2 separate regions of the Homo sapiens genome follow, and region 1 is linked to region 2. Evidence: promoter capture Hi-C in human tissues and cell types (Jung and others, 2019). All regions are on one chromosome and are shown on one strand. Each heading gives the region's core, a stretch centred on a gene start or on the middle of the fragment in contact. The rest is flanking DNA. Distances are from core to core; before and after follow the strand shown. Region 1 overlaps RAC1 (Rac family small GTPase 1). Region 2 holds the start of RNF216 (ring finger protein 216).

What was found. The method cuts DNA at HindIII sites, captures the fragments that hold promoters and counts their contacts. A contact is called where the count stands out against the background at its distance.
Region 1: a fragment that was not itself captured here is called in contact with the fragment with the promoter of RNF216 in region 2 in 1 of the 25 tissues and cell types used here (aorta).

Annotation. Positions count from the first base shown.
Region 1 is chr7:6,376,631-6,384,232 of GRCh38, reverse strand. All of the region lies in intron 1 of RAC1 (Rac family small GTPase 1), which reads right to left. Among named protein-coding and RNA genes, the nearest start is that of RAC1, 5.9 kb to the right of the region's middle. The HindIII fragment of the contact is 3,671 bases long and covers 1-3,453 here.
Region 2 is chr7:5,777,130-5,784,757 of GRCh38, reverse strand. It overlaps RNF216 (ring finger protein 216), which reads left to right and starts at 3,095. Exons shown (of 17, transcript NM_207111.4): 1 at 3,095-3,217. RefSeq lists a silencer at 3,297-3,686. The HindIII fragment of the contact is 32,599 bases long and covers 1-7,628 here.

The DNA.
Region 1 (7,602 bases), core at 369-2,868, 600 kb before region 2:
AACATAAGTGGGCTGTTTCCTGGACTGCTTGAACTTGGAGGCAGATCAAGCATCGCTTACCCATGGTTTGGATGTGGCAGCTGAGGAAGAAAGTGGAGCCTAAGGCTCTAAGGGACCTTTTTAAAAATGATAAAGGTTGGCTGGGCTCGGTGGCTCACACATGTAATCCCAGCACTTTGGGAGGCCAAGGCGGGCGGATCACCTGAGGTCAGGAATTCGAGAAGAGCCTGACCAACATGGAGAAACCCCTCTCTACTAAAAATACAAAATTAGCCGGGCGTGCATGCCTGTAATCCCAGCTACTCGGGAGGCTGAAGCAGGAGAGTCGCTTGAACCCGGGAGGCGGAAGTTGCAGTGAGCCGAGATTGCGCCATTGCACTCCAGCCTGGGCAACAAGAGCAAAACTCCGTCTCAAAAAAAAAAAAAAAAAAAAAAAAAAAAAAAAAAAGATAAAGGTTGTGTAAAAACCTTAACAATAGTTGCCACTCAGTGTCAAGGATAAGCTGCTATGAAGGTTTTGACTGTTATGATAAAATGTCATTATCACTTCTTTTACTATTCTGTCCTAAGTCTCTATGTATATGAGGAACAAAACTACTAATATAAAGGCAACCAGCTGTGTCTAAAATCCTCTAAACTTCCTTTCCTGAATGACATCTTTAGCTGAGAAAGGCTCAACCGGGAAGAAATTCAAGGTACTGGCATAATCTGATACTGACTGAAATTTTATTACCAATCACTATTTGTTACAAATCTATGTCTTATAAGAATATGATTATTAAACTACAGAATTCTTAAAGTGCAACCTTATATTTAAGCTTAGTGCAATCAAAAGATAAAATCGACTCCTCTTTAAGTCTTCTGATTAAAACTTTTACTTAATTTATTCAAATAGGTAAAAGAAAAAGGTTATTCCACTCCTATTAGTGTATATTCATTCCTTGTCCACGCTGCGCTTCCACAAACCAAGTCAACATCTGCACTGGGCAATGTGACAGCCTTTCCATGGCCTTTCCCTCATGAAGAATGGAAGCCGTATTTGGCCACAAGTCTTGACTGATACTGCTGGAGAATTTCTGGTAGTTACTACTTCTTTGGAATTTCTAACTTTATATAATTAACTGCTCAGTTCAACCTCTTTTCAATCATCGAGCAATGTCATCACTCTAGGAAACGAACATGAGTCGGCTGGAAGAAAGTTCATGCCATTTCTACATTGGATTTCCCCCTAGCTCATGATGCTACAATTTTTTTTAACCTATCTGTGCTTCCCCTGCCCTGTCCTGTAGAAATAACCACAATGAAAGCAAATAACTTATGTTGCTATTATGTTCTTCATTTTTCCATTAAGAGAACTTTAAGACGGAGTCTTGGCTCTGTCTTCCAGGCTGGAGCCCAATGGTGCAATCCTGGCTTACCACAACCTCTGCCTGCTGGGTTCGAACAATTCTCCTGCCTCAGCCTCCCAAGTAGCTGGGACTACACGTAAGCACCACCACATCCAGCTAATTTTTTTTTGTTGTTGTATTTTCAGTAGAGACAGGGTTTTGCCATGTTGGCCAGACTGGTCTCGAATTCCTGACCTCAGGAGATCCACCCCATCGGCCTCCCAAAGTGCTGGGGTTACAGGCGTGAGCCACCACGCCCAGCCAAGAGAACTTTTTACTTACTTTTTGAGGAGAGTAGGGTAAACTTTAGTGTTACTTCCTGAAATCTATAAACCAAAACTTAAAAGCACAATCAACAAATCTAGAAACGCTAGGAATTTCCTCACGTTAAAAAAATAAAAGATCCAAGAAGCTCAAAAAATAACAACTTTCTGCACTGCCTTCTTTTAAAGACACGTTGATCTCAGGACAGAAAAGCCAAACTCTTCCAATGACAATTACAATTGCAAACCAAAATACAGAGCATATATTGCTGTCTAAAAGTGAGTAGATCTTGGCCAGGCGCAGTGGCTCTTCCCTGTAATCCCAGCAAGAGGCCAAGGCGGGTGGATCACTTCAGGCCAGGAGTTCGAGACCAGACTGACCAACACAGCGAAACTGCATCTCTATTAAAAATACAAAAAATTAGCTGAGTGTGGTGGCAGGCGCCTGTAATCCCAGCTACTCAGGAGGCTGAGGCAGAAGTATCGCTTGAGGCCACGGGGTAGAGGTTGCAGTGAGCTGAGATCGCATCACTGCACTCCAGCCTGAGCAACAGAGCGAGACTCTCTGACTCAAAAAACAAAAAAAAGTATGTAGATCTTAAGGACAAGGCAGTAGAATTTAGTAACTGTCAAATATATATTCCTACTTATTGAATAAATTAAAGACCTCGCATGAAGGTCCTCGATTTACACTGACAAACAAGGTATGGGGATTCTGTAACGGTAGGCCTTATATATAACTGCGTTAACTATGCAGATAAAATCTGTCCAGAAAAATACACCACTAGAGTAGTGCAGTGCTAAATAAACACAAAACCCAATCTAAAATTATGATGTTCTACTACCAATATCTGACTTCACAATCAATGTAAAGAAAGCTAGCCATAAGCCAGGCACGGTGGCTCATGCCTGTAATCCTAGCACTTTAGGAGGGCAAGGTGGGCGGACTGTCTGACCTTAGGAGTTCAAGACCAGCCTGGGCAGCACAGTGAAACCCCGTCTCTACTAAAATACAAAAGAAATTAGCTGGGTGTGGTGGCACACGCCTGTAATCTCAGCTACTCAGGAGGCTGAGGCAGGAGAATTGCTTGAACCTGGGAGGCAGAGGTTGCAGTGAGCTGATTTCGTGCCACTGCACTCCAGCCTGGCGACAGAGCAAGACTCTGTTTCTACCAAAAAAAAAAAAAAAAAGCCAGCAATTATTACCACTAGAAGCTTCAAAAAATTAAGATAGTGCATAAAGTTTCTCACTTAGGCTGAAGACACTATGTACAACTGAGCTGAAGTCTGAATCCACCCTTCCAGAATCAAGGCTAACCCTGGTGTAGTTGATACAAGCCAGCTGAACACACAAGAGTTCAAAAATAAGAATTTATATGTAACTGCACACAGTCCCTATTCTTTTTCAAAATCAGGCCGGGCATGGTGGCTGACGCCTGTAATCCCATCACTTTGGGAGGCCGAGGCAGGTGGATCACCTGAGGTCAGGAGTTCCAGACCAGCCTGGCCAAGATGGTGAAACCTGTCTCAACTAAGAATACAAAAATTAGCCAGGCATGGTGGTGGGTGCCTGTAAGCCCAGCTACTCAGGAGGCTGAGGCAGGAGAATCGCCTGAACCTGGGATGCGGAGATTGCAGTGAGCAGAGATCATGCCATTGCACTCCAGCCTGGGCAACAGAGCAAGACTCCACCTCAAAAAGAGCAAAACAAAACAAAACAAAAAACAAAATCAACTCCTCTATAAATCCTCTTAAAAGGTTCCCTCTGATAACAGGAAGACATGATAAAGCAAATACAGCAAAATGAACAAGTAGAGCAAAATACTGTCATAGAATCCAGGCCATGGGTATGTGCATGTTGACTGTACAATGCTTTCCACTAGTCTGTTTGAAATTTTTCATATTAAGACATTGCAGGAAAATATTCCTACTGATCACATGCAATCCTGCCTTGGTGGCAAAGACTCTTGACAAAAACATCTCCTTTCAAGGAAGACTACAATTTTAAGAGCTACGTAGTGATGGAGATGTGAAAAAGTAGGCAGTACTAAGGTATCAGATGACTAATGCAAAAAGACAGAAAGTTATAAAGGGTGAATTTAAGGTTTCTAAAAATGGCTTCCTGATGCTCCTCCCACTTAGCCCAACTCCAAACTTTTACTGTAACTATCATTTGAAATTAAAACACACACACACACACACATTATGTATAATTTTTTTGGCTTATCAAGAAAAAAAACCACATTATGTATAAAATCATCAACAAAGATCAGAGCCATATACTACACCTACATTTGGAGGCCAGTGCAGAATTCAAATACCTTTACCACAGGTCAAAAATATGAAACCCCATGCCTTGAGAGGAAAACACACAAAACAGCTGAAAAGCTTAAACAAATTCATGGTTCACGCCACCACCGTTCAACAGAAGTAAAGAATAAATGTAAAGAATGTTCCTGTAAGGATGATGTCACGGAAGGCATTTTTCACATTCAGCTAAGAAACTCCTGGACAGTAATGTATGTCCAAGTCAGACATTGGGCTAGACAGGCCACTAGCCCAATCTGGACTCCACTTTGTATAAAGAGTGAAACAGAGAGGGCTTCAAGTCATTCGTTCCCATTCCTTTAATCAACCAACACCAAAACAACACTATTAAAATAGTTGTGGCCGGGCGCAGTGGCTCGGGCCTGTAATTCCATCACTTTGGGAGGCCAAAGCAGGAGAACTGCTTGAACCCAGGAGGCAGAGGTTGCCATGAGCCCATATCATGCCACTGCACCCCGGCCTGGGTGACAGAGCGAGACTCCATCTCAAAAAATAGTAATAAGCAATAAAAAAATAAAAAATAAAATAATAAAACTGTTGTTTAGGCCAGGGACGATGGCTCACGCCCATAATCCCAGCACTTTGGGAGGCCAAGGCGGGCAGATCGCCTAAGGTCAGGAGTTCGAAACCAACCTGGTCAACATGGTGAAACCCTGTCTCTATTAAAAATACAAAAAATTGCCAGGCGTAGTGGCTCATGCCTGTAATCCCAGTACTTTTTGAGAGGCTAAGGCAGGTGGATAACCTGAGGTCAGGCGTTTGAGACCAACCTGGCTAACAAGGAGAAACCTCGTCTCTATTAAAAATACGAAATTAGTCAGTGTGGTGGAGCGTGACTGTAATCCCACCTACTCGACAAGCTGAGGCAGGAGAATCGCTTGAACCCAGGAGGAGGAGGTTGCAGTGAGCCGAGATCGCACCACTGCACTCCAACCTTTGCAAAAAGGGCGAAAACTCCTTCTCAAAAAAAAAAAAAAAAAAAAAATTACCTCGGCATGGTAGCAGGCACGTGTAGTTCCAGCTACTTGGGAGGCTGACGCAGGAGAATCACTTGAACCCAGGAGGTGGAGGCTGCAGTGAGCCAATATAAAATAAAAACAAATAAATAATAAAAGTTGTTTATAAATACCTGAATGTAAGATGCTGTCTTTTTTTTCCTTTTTGAGACGGAGTCTCACTCTGTTACCCAGGCTGGAGTGCAGTGGCACGATATTGGCTCACTGCAACTTCCACCTCCCTTGATTCAAACAATTCCCCTGCCTCAGCCTCCCGAGTAGCTAGGATTACAGGCGCCCCCCACCATCCTTGGCTAATTTTTTTGTATTTTTAGTAGAGACAGGGTTTCACCATATTGGCCAGACTGGTCTCGAACTCCTGACTTCAGGCAATCCGCCTGCCTTGGCCTCCCAAAGTTCTGGGATTACAGGCATGAGCCATCGCGCCCGGGTGATGCTGTCTTACCTAGGAAAAGCTGAGAGAAAATCTTGGGGCAAAGGTCCACTAAGTGAAAGTTAAAAGGTGGGGCAGCAGTAAGGTGGAGGAAAAAAAAATTATAGACCCCATGCTCAGAAAGGACTATCTTAGAATAAAAGAGTATCAACCCTATGTAATATTTCTTGGCCAATCTCAATTAAATTGCTATTCAGGAAATCTAGAATTTTCTAACATGCTTTGCAAATTATTTCTGACTTTTTTTCTTTTTTTTTCAAGACAGAGCCTTGCTCTTGTCGCCCAGGCTGGAGTGCAGTGACACAATCTCAGCTCACTGCAACTTCCGCCTTCCGGGTTCAAGTGATTCTCCTGCCTCAGCATCCTGAGTAGCTGGGATTACAGGCGCCCACCACCACGCCCGGCTAATTTTTGTACTTTTAGTAGAGACAGGGTTTTGCCATGTTGGCCAGGCTGGTCTCGAGCTCCTGACCTCAGGTGATCCGCCTGCCTCGGCCTCCCAAAGTGCTGAGATTACAGGCATGAGCCACCGCACCTGGCAGACATATTTTCATACGGGTGTATTATCAGTCTCTATCAGTCAGGGTCCCAGAAGGAAAAAACTCATCCCAGAAGATTGAAATAGAGATTTTCATGAAGGAATTATTTACACAGCCCTGTATGCAGAGTTAAGGAGCAAACAAGATGGCAAGGCATCCAATTCTAGAAATGATAAGACAGAACCATCCCTAGGGATGATGAGACAAGGAGCAGGAGTTTCCTTAAGAGCCCAGTGTAAGCAGAGGCACAGGAGGGCAGGATGGAGGGACGTACAGCCTGAAAGGACACTGCCATGGTCCAGGCAAAGGGTCAAAGCAGGAACAGATGAAGATGTATCTCCTTTAAAAACAAACAAACAAAAAAAGACAGTTTCCCTCTGTCACCCAAGCTGGAGTGCAATGGTACAATCTTGGCTCACTGCAACCTCCACCTCCCAAGTTCAAGCGATTCTCCTGCCTCAACCTCCTGAATAGCTAGGATTACAGGCGTGCCCAGCTAATTTTTCTATTTTTAGTAGAGACGAGGTTTCGCCATATTGGCCAGACTGGTCTCAAACTCCTGACCTCAGGTGAACCGCCCACCTCGGCCTCCCAAAGTGCTGGGATTACAGGCTTGAGCTACCGTGCCCGGCCAAAGACGTATCTCTAATAGTTTTTGTTTTTGCTTTTTTGAGACAAGGTCTCACTCTGTCGCACGGGCTGGAGTGCAATGGCACAATCTCAGCTCACTACAACCTCCACCTCCTGGGTTTCAAGCGATCCTCCCACCTTAGCCTCCCGAGTAGCTGGGACTACAGGCACATGTGTCTACACCTAGCTAATTTTTGTATTTTTAGCAGAGACAGGGTCTCGCCATGTTGCCCAGGCTGGTCTTGAACTCCTAAGCTCTAGTGATCCACCCACCTTGGCCTCCCAAAATGCTGGGTTACAGGTGTGAGCCACCTGACCTGGCCAGGTACATTTCACTTCTAATATCACTTAGCTGTAGTCAACATCAATACTAAACATAGTATTAAAAAATAACTGTGCTTGTTCAAATGCTCATAACTAATTAAAAAAAAAAAACAGACTGAAAACTCAAGGCCACAGACTTTTAAGCCTAATACTCCCTCACAGAGTCTCAGTAGTAGAAACCGCAATAACAGTACCTGGCATTTACTAAGCATTCAGCAAGGGGCACCTGCGAGGTAGTTAATAACCAACATCTTGTTTAGTCTTGTTGACCTCCCATTGAACCGCCTCTCTTGGGAGGTGGGGGATGTGCTTAGGGTTACCCCATGTAAGCGGTGGGGTGGGGATTTGAAGGGACGGTCCAGATTCCATGACATTCAACAAGTTATTTGACTAGATAAAACAGCCAATTCAAACAGCAGAGGTCCACAATCGGTTAGTATTAAATAAACGTATCTGCTATGCTTATGTTTTAGTTTTAGAAATTTTCAAATAATTATCAGCAATATGACTTAAAAAAAAAAAAAAAAAAAAACAGGCCGAGGCGGGCGGATCACTTGAGGGTCAGGAGTTTGAGACCAGCCTCACCAACATGGTGAAACTCCGTCTCCACCAAAAAAATACAAAAAAAAAAAAAAAAAACAAATTAGCTGGGCATGGTGGCTTGCGCCTGTAATCCCAGCT
Region 2 (7,628 bases), core at 1,846-4,345:
ACCTGAGGTGAGGAGTTTGAGACCAGCATGGCCAACATGGTGAAACCCCGTCTCTACAAAAAATATTTTAAAAATTAGCCGGGTGTGATGGTGGGTGCCTGTAGTCCCAGCTACTTGGGAGACTGAGCCAGGAGAATCGCTTGAACCTGGGAGGCAGAGGTTCCAGTGAGGCAAGATCGTGCCACTGCACTCCAGCCTGGGCGATGGAAGGAGACACCGTCTCAAAAATAAATAAATAAAGACAAAAATAAAGTCTCTCTTCTCATTGCCATCACGTCTGAGTCAGAGTCTCCAAAAAGCCTGAACAAATAAAAAATTCCAGACTCAGGCCAGGTGCGGTGGCTCATGCCTGTAATTCCAGCACTTTGGGAGGCCAAGGCGGGTGGATCACGAGGTCAGGAGATCGAGACCATCCTGGCTAACACGGCGAAACCCCATCTCTACTAAAAATACAAAAAAAAATTAGCCCTTGGTGGCGGGCGCCTGTAGTCCCAGCTACTCGGGAGGCTGAGGCAGGAGAACGGCGTGAGCCCAGGAGGCGGAGCTTGCAGTGAACCAAGATCGCGCCACCGCACTCCAGACTGGGTGGCACAGCAAGACTTCATCTCAAAAAAAAAAAAAAAAAAAGCTAGACTCAGAGAGGTTACTCGATCGCACCTGCCTTGGGTGTGACACCAACCACAGAGGGGTTCAGTGGTCCGGAAAGAACCTTGCACTCCTGCTAAGATCACCAAGCTCTCCTTCCAATACTGCTTTCTTCCAACATCTCAAAGGGCTTATGAGGACCATCCTAAGAAGAAGGCTGTAACTGACAGCGATTATCCACCTCCCCCAAGAGGACCAGCATGGAGGATAAGCTCATCAAGGCCAATGCCTTTGTTTTACCTTCCAGGTGATTCCAGGATCTCATCTCAGGTAAGTATCTATCTTAAACTCTCTCTCCTGTTCACCCTCTAATGTCTCCCATGCACTGCACCCTCTAACTCAGGGCCTGACATCTGTAAGATCCCTAGATCCTCGTCCTGTTCTGTAAGCAGCCCTTCAATTTCTACTTCACTGAAACATGACTATTCCCTCAGGACACTGTTCCCCAAAGCACTATGAGTAGTGGTCTTTTTCTGTCCCATGCAAGCCCCCATAAGCCACACTCTACTGTCTTAGAGAAGGAACACTCATTGCCGCATCAAGACTATTGTTCCTCTCATTTCCCTGTTTTGTTTTTGTTTGCTTCTTTTGAGACAGGCTGTTGTTCTGTCATCCAGGCTGGAGTGCAGCAGTGCAATCATAGCTCACAGCAGCCTCGGACTCCTGGGCTCAAACAATCCTCTGGCCGGGTTTAGTGGCTCGCTCCTGTAATTCCAGCACTTTGGTAGGCCGAGGTGGGTAGATTACCTGAGGTCAGGAGTTCAAGACCAGCCTGGCCAACATGGTGAAACCCTGTCTCTACTGAAAATACGAAAATTAGCCGGGCGTGGTGGCACATGCTTGTAATCCCAGCTACTCAGGAGGCTGAGGCAGGAGAATCGCTTGAGCCCAGAAGGTGGAGGTTGCAGTGAGCCAAGATCGTGCCACCGCACTCCAGCCTGGCTGACAGAGTGAGATTCTGTCCAAAAAAACAAAACAAACAAAACAAAACAAAACAAAAAAATCCTCCCACCTCAGTCTCCTGAGTAGCTGGGACTATAGGTGCGCACCACCATGCCCGGCTAATTTTTATTTTTGTAAAGATGGGGTCTTACTCTATTGCCCAGGATCGTCTCAAACTCCTGGCTTCAAGCCATCCTCCCACCTCCATTTCCCAAAATGTTCGGATTCCAGGTATAAGCCACTATGCCCAGCCCAGACTCATTTATCTAATTACTGACTTGATATCTCTACTTGAAGGTGTACTTGGCAATTTTTTTTTTTTTGAGACACAGTCTCACTCTGTTACCCAGGCTGAAGTGCAGTGGCATAATCACTGCACTACAACCTCCCCCTCCTCGGTTCAAGCAATTCTTGTGCCTCGGCCTCCCGAGTAGCTCGGATTACAGGCACGCACCACCATGCCCAGCTAATTTTTGTATTTTTAGTAGAGACGGGGTTTCACCATGGTGGCCAGGCTGGTCTCGAACTCCTGACCTCAAGTGATCTGCCTGCCTCGGCCTCCCAATGTGCTGGGATTACAGGCGTGAACCACCACGCCTGGCCAGCAATTATTTTAAGAGTTGGGGTCTTGCTATTTTGCTAAGGCTGGTCTTGAACTCCTGGCCTCAAGCGATCCTCCTGCCTTGGCCTTCCAAAGCGCGGGGATTATGGACATGAGCCACTGTGCCCAGCAGGAGCAGTATTTTAGTCAGTTATTCACTTGCTCACTAAAACCTAAACTTCCTGAGGCCAGGAACACATTTTACTTTTTTTTTTTTTCGAGATGGAGGGTTGCTCTGTTGCCCAGGCTGGAGTGCAGGGGCGCCATGTTGGCTCACTACAACCTCCGCCTCCCAGGTTCAAGTGATTTTCCCGCCTCAGCCTCCTGAGTAGCTGGGATTACAGGCATCCGCCACCATGCCTGGCTAATTTTTTTATTTTTGGTAGAGACGGGTTTCACCATGTTGGCCAGGCTGGTCTCCAACGTCTGACCTCAAGTGATCCACCCGCCTTGGCCTCCCAAAGTGCTGGGATTACAGGCGTGAGCCACTGTGCCCAGCCATGGGACCCACTTTACTCTTAATTTCCCCAATTCCTAGAACAGTGTGTGGCCCACAGGAAATCCGCAGAATATATTTGCAGAATGAATGAATGACTTGCCAAACGAATTAGGGCAAATCAGTAGATATCGAGTAAACATCCACAACCACCTGCCCCATACCCTTTTCAGCTCTGGGGAGATGGTGGCTCCTTGTGGGGTCGGATATGGGGGTCTCCTTTCCTTTCACCCTCCTGCCTCGTGGGGGAGTCAAGTCTCCGCAGGCGGAGAGCCCGGATGCAGGCGCGACTAGGCGGCCCTCTCTATGGTGAGCCCCCCGGTCCCTCCTCCGCAGTACCCGGAGTGCCTCTATGGTTCTTCCTGTCCTTAGTCGGGAGGGGGCGCTGTGCGCAGGCGCGAGGTGACGCCGCGGCAGGGCCGGAAGGAGTGCAGCGGCTGCCACGGAGCTCGCAGCTGCGGCTTCTGAGGAGTAAGCGGCGCGGTAGCGAAGGCCGCCGAACCTGCCTGGCTAGCCGGCGACTTGAGTGACGAGTGAGTGTCGGCTGCGGGGCGCGCTCGAGCTCCTGGGCGGGTCTGTGAGGCGACGCGGCCTCTCTGAGGGGCGCCTCTGTGGAGCTCCGGGGGTGGGGGCGGGGGCGCGGGCCGTGAGGGCCGCCGAGCTGAGGGGCGCGGGCCGAGGCCCGGGCGGGATCGGGCCAAGGGGCTGGGCTGGGCGTCTCGAGCCCGGTGCGGTGGCGAGGCTGGAGCGACAAAGGCGCTGAGCGGCCGGGTGGCCCCCTCTCGCCACTTCGCGAAGTTTCGCGGGCCGGCCCCTCGGGTCTGCTGCGCGAGGGCAACAGCCCGGGAGACCGCGCTTCCCTCCCCCGGGCCCGAGGCCGCCGCGGAGGCGGTGTCCGTGCACCCGAGCGCGGCCTGGAGGAGCGGCGGGAGGCGGGCCGTGCCTGTGAACCCCAGCCCAGGCGGGCGGCGTTTTTCCTCCTCTTCCCTCACATCTGGAGCGCGTGTTCCGCGAAAGTTGGCGACTGTCACCCGGCACTCGCGAGGGCGCCGCAAGTGCGTCAAACCCTTCTGCGGGGCGCTGGGGGCTGGCCCGGCTCGGGTGTCCGGGCGCTGGGCAGCGAGCGAGGCCGCTGTCCCCGCGTCGAGGTGGTTCTGCTCCCGGTGGAACAGGACCAGGGATCCAAGACTCTGGGCCACTTGCAACCAACCCTGGAGCGTGCGCGGCGTGCGGGTTACAGAAATTTCTGACAAATCCGACAGGGCTCTGTAAATCCCTAAGGGCCTGGGTAGCAGCTGTCCTAGGTACTTAGATCGTGCAAAGAGAACGTTCTTTTTTCTTTTACTTTTTTTTTTTTCTCCTTTTCTTTGAGACGGAGTCTTGCTCTGTTGCCCAGGCTGGAGTGCAGTGGCGCGATCCCGGCTCACTGCAAGCTCTGCCTCCCGGATTCAAGCGATTTTCCTGCCTCAGCCTCACAGGGATTGCCTCAGCTGGGATTACAGGCATTTGCCACCACGTCCAGCTAATTTTTGTATTTTTAGTAGAGACGGGATTTCTCCGTGTTGGCCAGGCTGGTCTCTAACGTCTGACCTCAGGTGATCCCTCCGCCTCGGCCTCCCAAAGTGCTACAGTCTTTTCAAAAGACGTTTCAGATATGTTCTCCGGGACCCTCGGGCCCTTCAGTAAGAAGCGCCCTGGCTGAAAACCCACACGTTCACCTACAGAAGAAGCACTGTGACGTAGAGGGTGAGCAGAGCAGAGGGCCTCACAGTGGCCCTCACATGCACCTGGCTCCAGCCTGGCCAGGTCATTTTGCCCTGGTGGGCCTGTGCCTCAAAAATGGGGTTTCTTCCCTTGTGAGGAAGACCCATGAATTAGTAACGGAATTGCCAGGAATGCTAAAAACTATCTAAATGCCATGTATTGTTTTCAAGCTGTTACTCCTGGAAGGGGCTGGGTTGGCATTGTTTTAGAGGTTAGGAGCCAAACATCAGCTCATCTATTCTCCAGCTGTTGTTTGTCCTCCATCTTCCTGCAATAGTCAGGCACAGGGTCTTATAAAAATGGGTTTGTGCTGCTGTATGTTTCGGTGGGTACCTTTGTTTACTGAATGGGATGTAGGTGGGGGACCAGAGCATATCCGCGTCCCTCGGAAACAGTGGCGTTTTAGATGTAGTATGTCCCGTCAGCTCCTCTCTGCCCCACCCACCCCAGCCCATTCATTGAGCATTTTTTTTTTTTTTTTGAGGCGGAGTCTGGCTGTATTTCCCAGGCTAAAGTGCAGTGGTGCCATCTCTGCCCACTGCACCCTCCGCCTGCCAGCTTCAAGTAATTCTCCTGCCTCAGCCTCCCGAGTAGCTGGAATTACAGGCGCGCACCACCACGCTCGGCTAACTTTTTTTTTTTTTTTTTTTTTTAAGAGACGGAGTCTAGCTGTGCTGCCCAACTCCTGGGTTTAAGTGACCCTCAGCCTCCCAAAGCACAAGAATTACAGGCTTTAGCCACCGTGCTCTGCCAGAACATTCTTTACGCGCTGAGAAGGGAGAGAAGCGGGAAGATTCTATGAAACATCTCAATTTAGTCGGCTTGCTTTAAGGAAGAAGGCTAATACATGGCCTGGCTTTGCCTTGGTTTTGTATTTCATAATTTATTGCGCCTGGGGTGTGGGGAGTAGTGGTGGATTTGAGGAAATGCCTGGAGAGTCTGGGCCAGATTTTGGACCCCCTGGCAAACCTCATTCGAGGCTTTAGATTTTTACCCTGATTAGAGCAGCAGCAGCTAATAAAAGAGAACTCCTGAAGCCCCTGTGGAGAAATCTGATAAAGAAGGGTTAGGTGTGAGTGAGGCAGATCGAAAGTTGATGAATAGGATAGTTGAGAGAGCTGGTATTTGCTGATTCTACTACCAGCTACTATTTAATGTGTTTACAAAATTCTAGGCATTGCTATATTCTAGCTCTTTAGAGACATAATTCATTCTCATACCTGATATCATTATATTTGCATTATTGTTAAAGATAATAGAACATAGTTGGGAATGGTGTGGCTCACGCCCGTAATCCCAGCACTTTGGGAGGCCGAGGCGGGCAGATCACCTAAGGTCAGGAGTTCGAGACCAGCCTGGCCAACATGGTGAAACCCCGTCTCTACTAAAAATACAAAAATTAGCCAGGTGTGATGGCGTGCGCCTGTAATCCCAGCTACTGGGGAGGCTGAGGCAGGAGAATCACATGAACTCGGGAGGCGGAGGTTGCAGTGATCCGAGATTGTGCCACTGCACTCCAGCCTGGGTGACAGAGCGAGACTCCGTCTCAAAAATAATAATAATTTTAAAAAAAGAAACTGAGGTGCTGAAAAATATCTAGTCCCAAAACTTGTAAGGGTCAGCGTGGAACTTGAACTCAGTTTGGACCCAGAGTTCATGCCACTAATTATCCTTCTATAATTAGTGAGTGCTATTTATTCTGAAAGTACATCTACTATTGAAGATCATCTACTGTGCCATCCGATATGCTATGTCCTGGGGCTTTGGGATCAAGTGACACTTTGGTTCTGCCTTCTTGGAACTTAAGTTTTAGCAGAGGAGACCAAAATTACACATAGTTTCCTAAATAAGTATATTAAAGTATTGTTGGAAGTACTTTGAAGAAATGAGGTACGTTGTGTGATTGAACCAGGGAGGAACATCTAGGGGATAATCAGGAACAATTTTTCTCTGAGGAGAAAGCAAAGAACCGAACAATGAATAGAGTTAATTTGGTCCAAGAGGCAGTGAAGAAGAGTAGTTTAGCTGGGGAAGAGCCTGCAGTGGAAGGAAGGAGCAAGTCATGGAACTGAACCATTGTTACTACTGAATGGTGAATGCGGGGGGAAAAGGTATGAGGTAAGGCCCGCTATGTCAGCAAGGTCAGGTGATGGTAGCGTTTTGTAGGCCATGGTAAGGATTTCGGTTTCACCATGGTGAGATTTGTGGTTTAAAAGAAATAACTCAAATGCCGTATGAAAACATGTCAAGGGATGGAGCCTGCAAGGCAGTACTTGGGCTAGAAGCAGAAGCATGTCCTTTGGTCACAGAAGATTCAGTTCTAAAAAGATCGTTGAAAACGTTGATTTTACCCTCCACACATGAGGATGTACTTACTTATCTGTCCTAGTTTCTAAACTAATTTTCATTGGACAGTTGAAGAAAATCTTGATGTTTTATGTTAAATTGTTTAGCCCGCCCACTGAAGATTTTGAGTTTAATTTTTGATTTAAAACCTTTCCTATTGTAAAAATACACAGATAATAGGATTCTTAGAGCTGTTAAACTCTAGACTAATTGTTTGCATATTTATATCCATAATGATGGATGTTATTTTACCATATTTTGTCCACATATTAAAGTTAACACAATTTTCGTTTTCTTTCTCTGAACTCATCATCTGCTTTGTTCTTCCTTAATAGCATCACCATCCTGTGGTCACCTGATCTCAGCGTCTAGGTCAACTTTGATTCCTTTCTTCTTGCCCTGATGGCCAGTGACATACACAGATCCCATCGACTCTAACTCTGCAGTCAGTGTCTTGTATTCTTCTCCTCCCCCTAGGTACTGTTGGCTCTTGTTTCCTGGCACCGGTTGTCTCCTACATGCCATCTTACACATTGCAGCCAGGTTGATTTTTCTAAAGCACAGCTGTCATTGCATTGCTTCCCATTGGCTAGAAAATAAAATCTGAGCTCTGTTTCAGTTATCTGTTGATGTATAACAAACCACCCTAATACTTACTGCTTCATAGAATAATTTTGTTTGTTGACAGTTTTATGAATCAGGAGAATTGAGAAGTGCTCACCTGGGCCATTTTTCTCTGGTCGACATGTTGTCAGCAGAGGTGGCCAGTGCTGGAGCATCCGCTTCCACAATGTCTTCTTCGTTCACATGCCTTGTCAAAGACTGCTGGAAGGC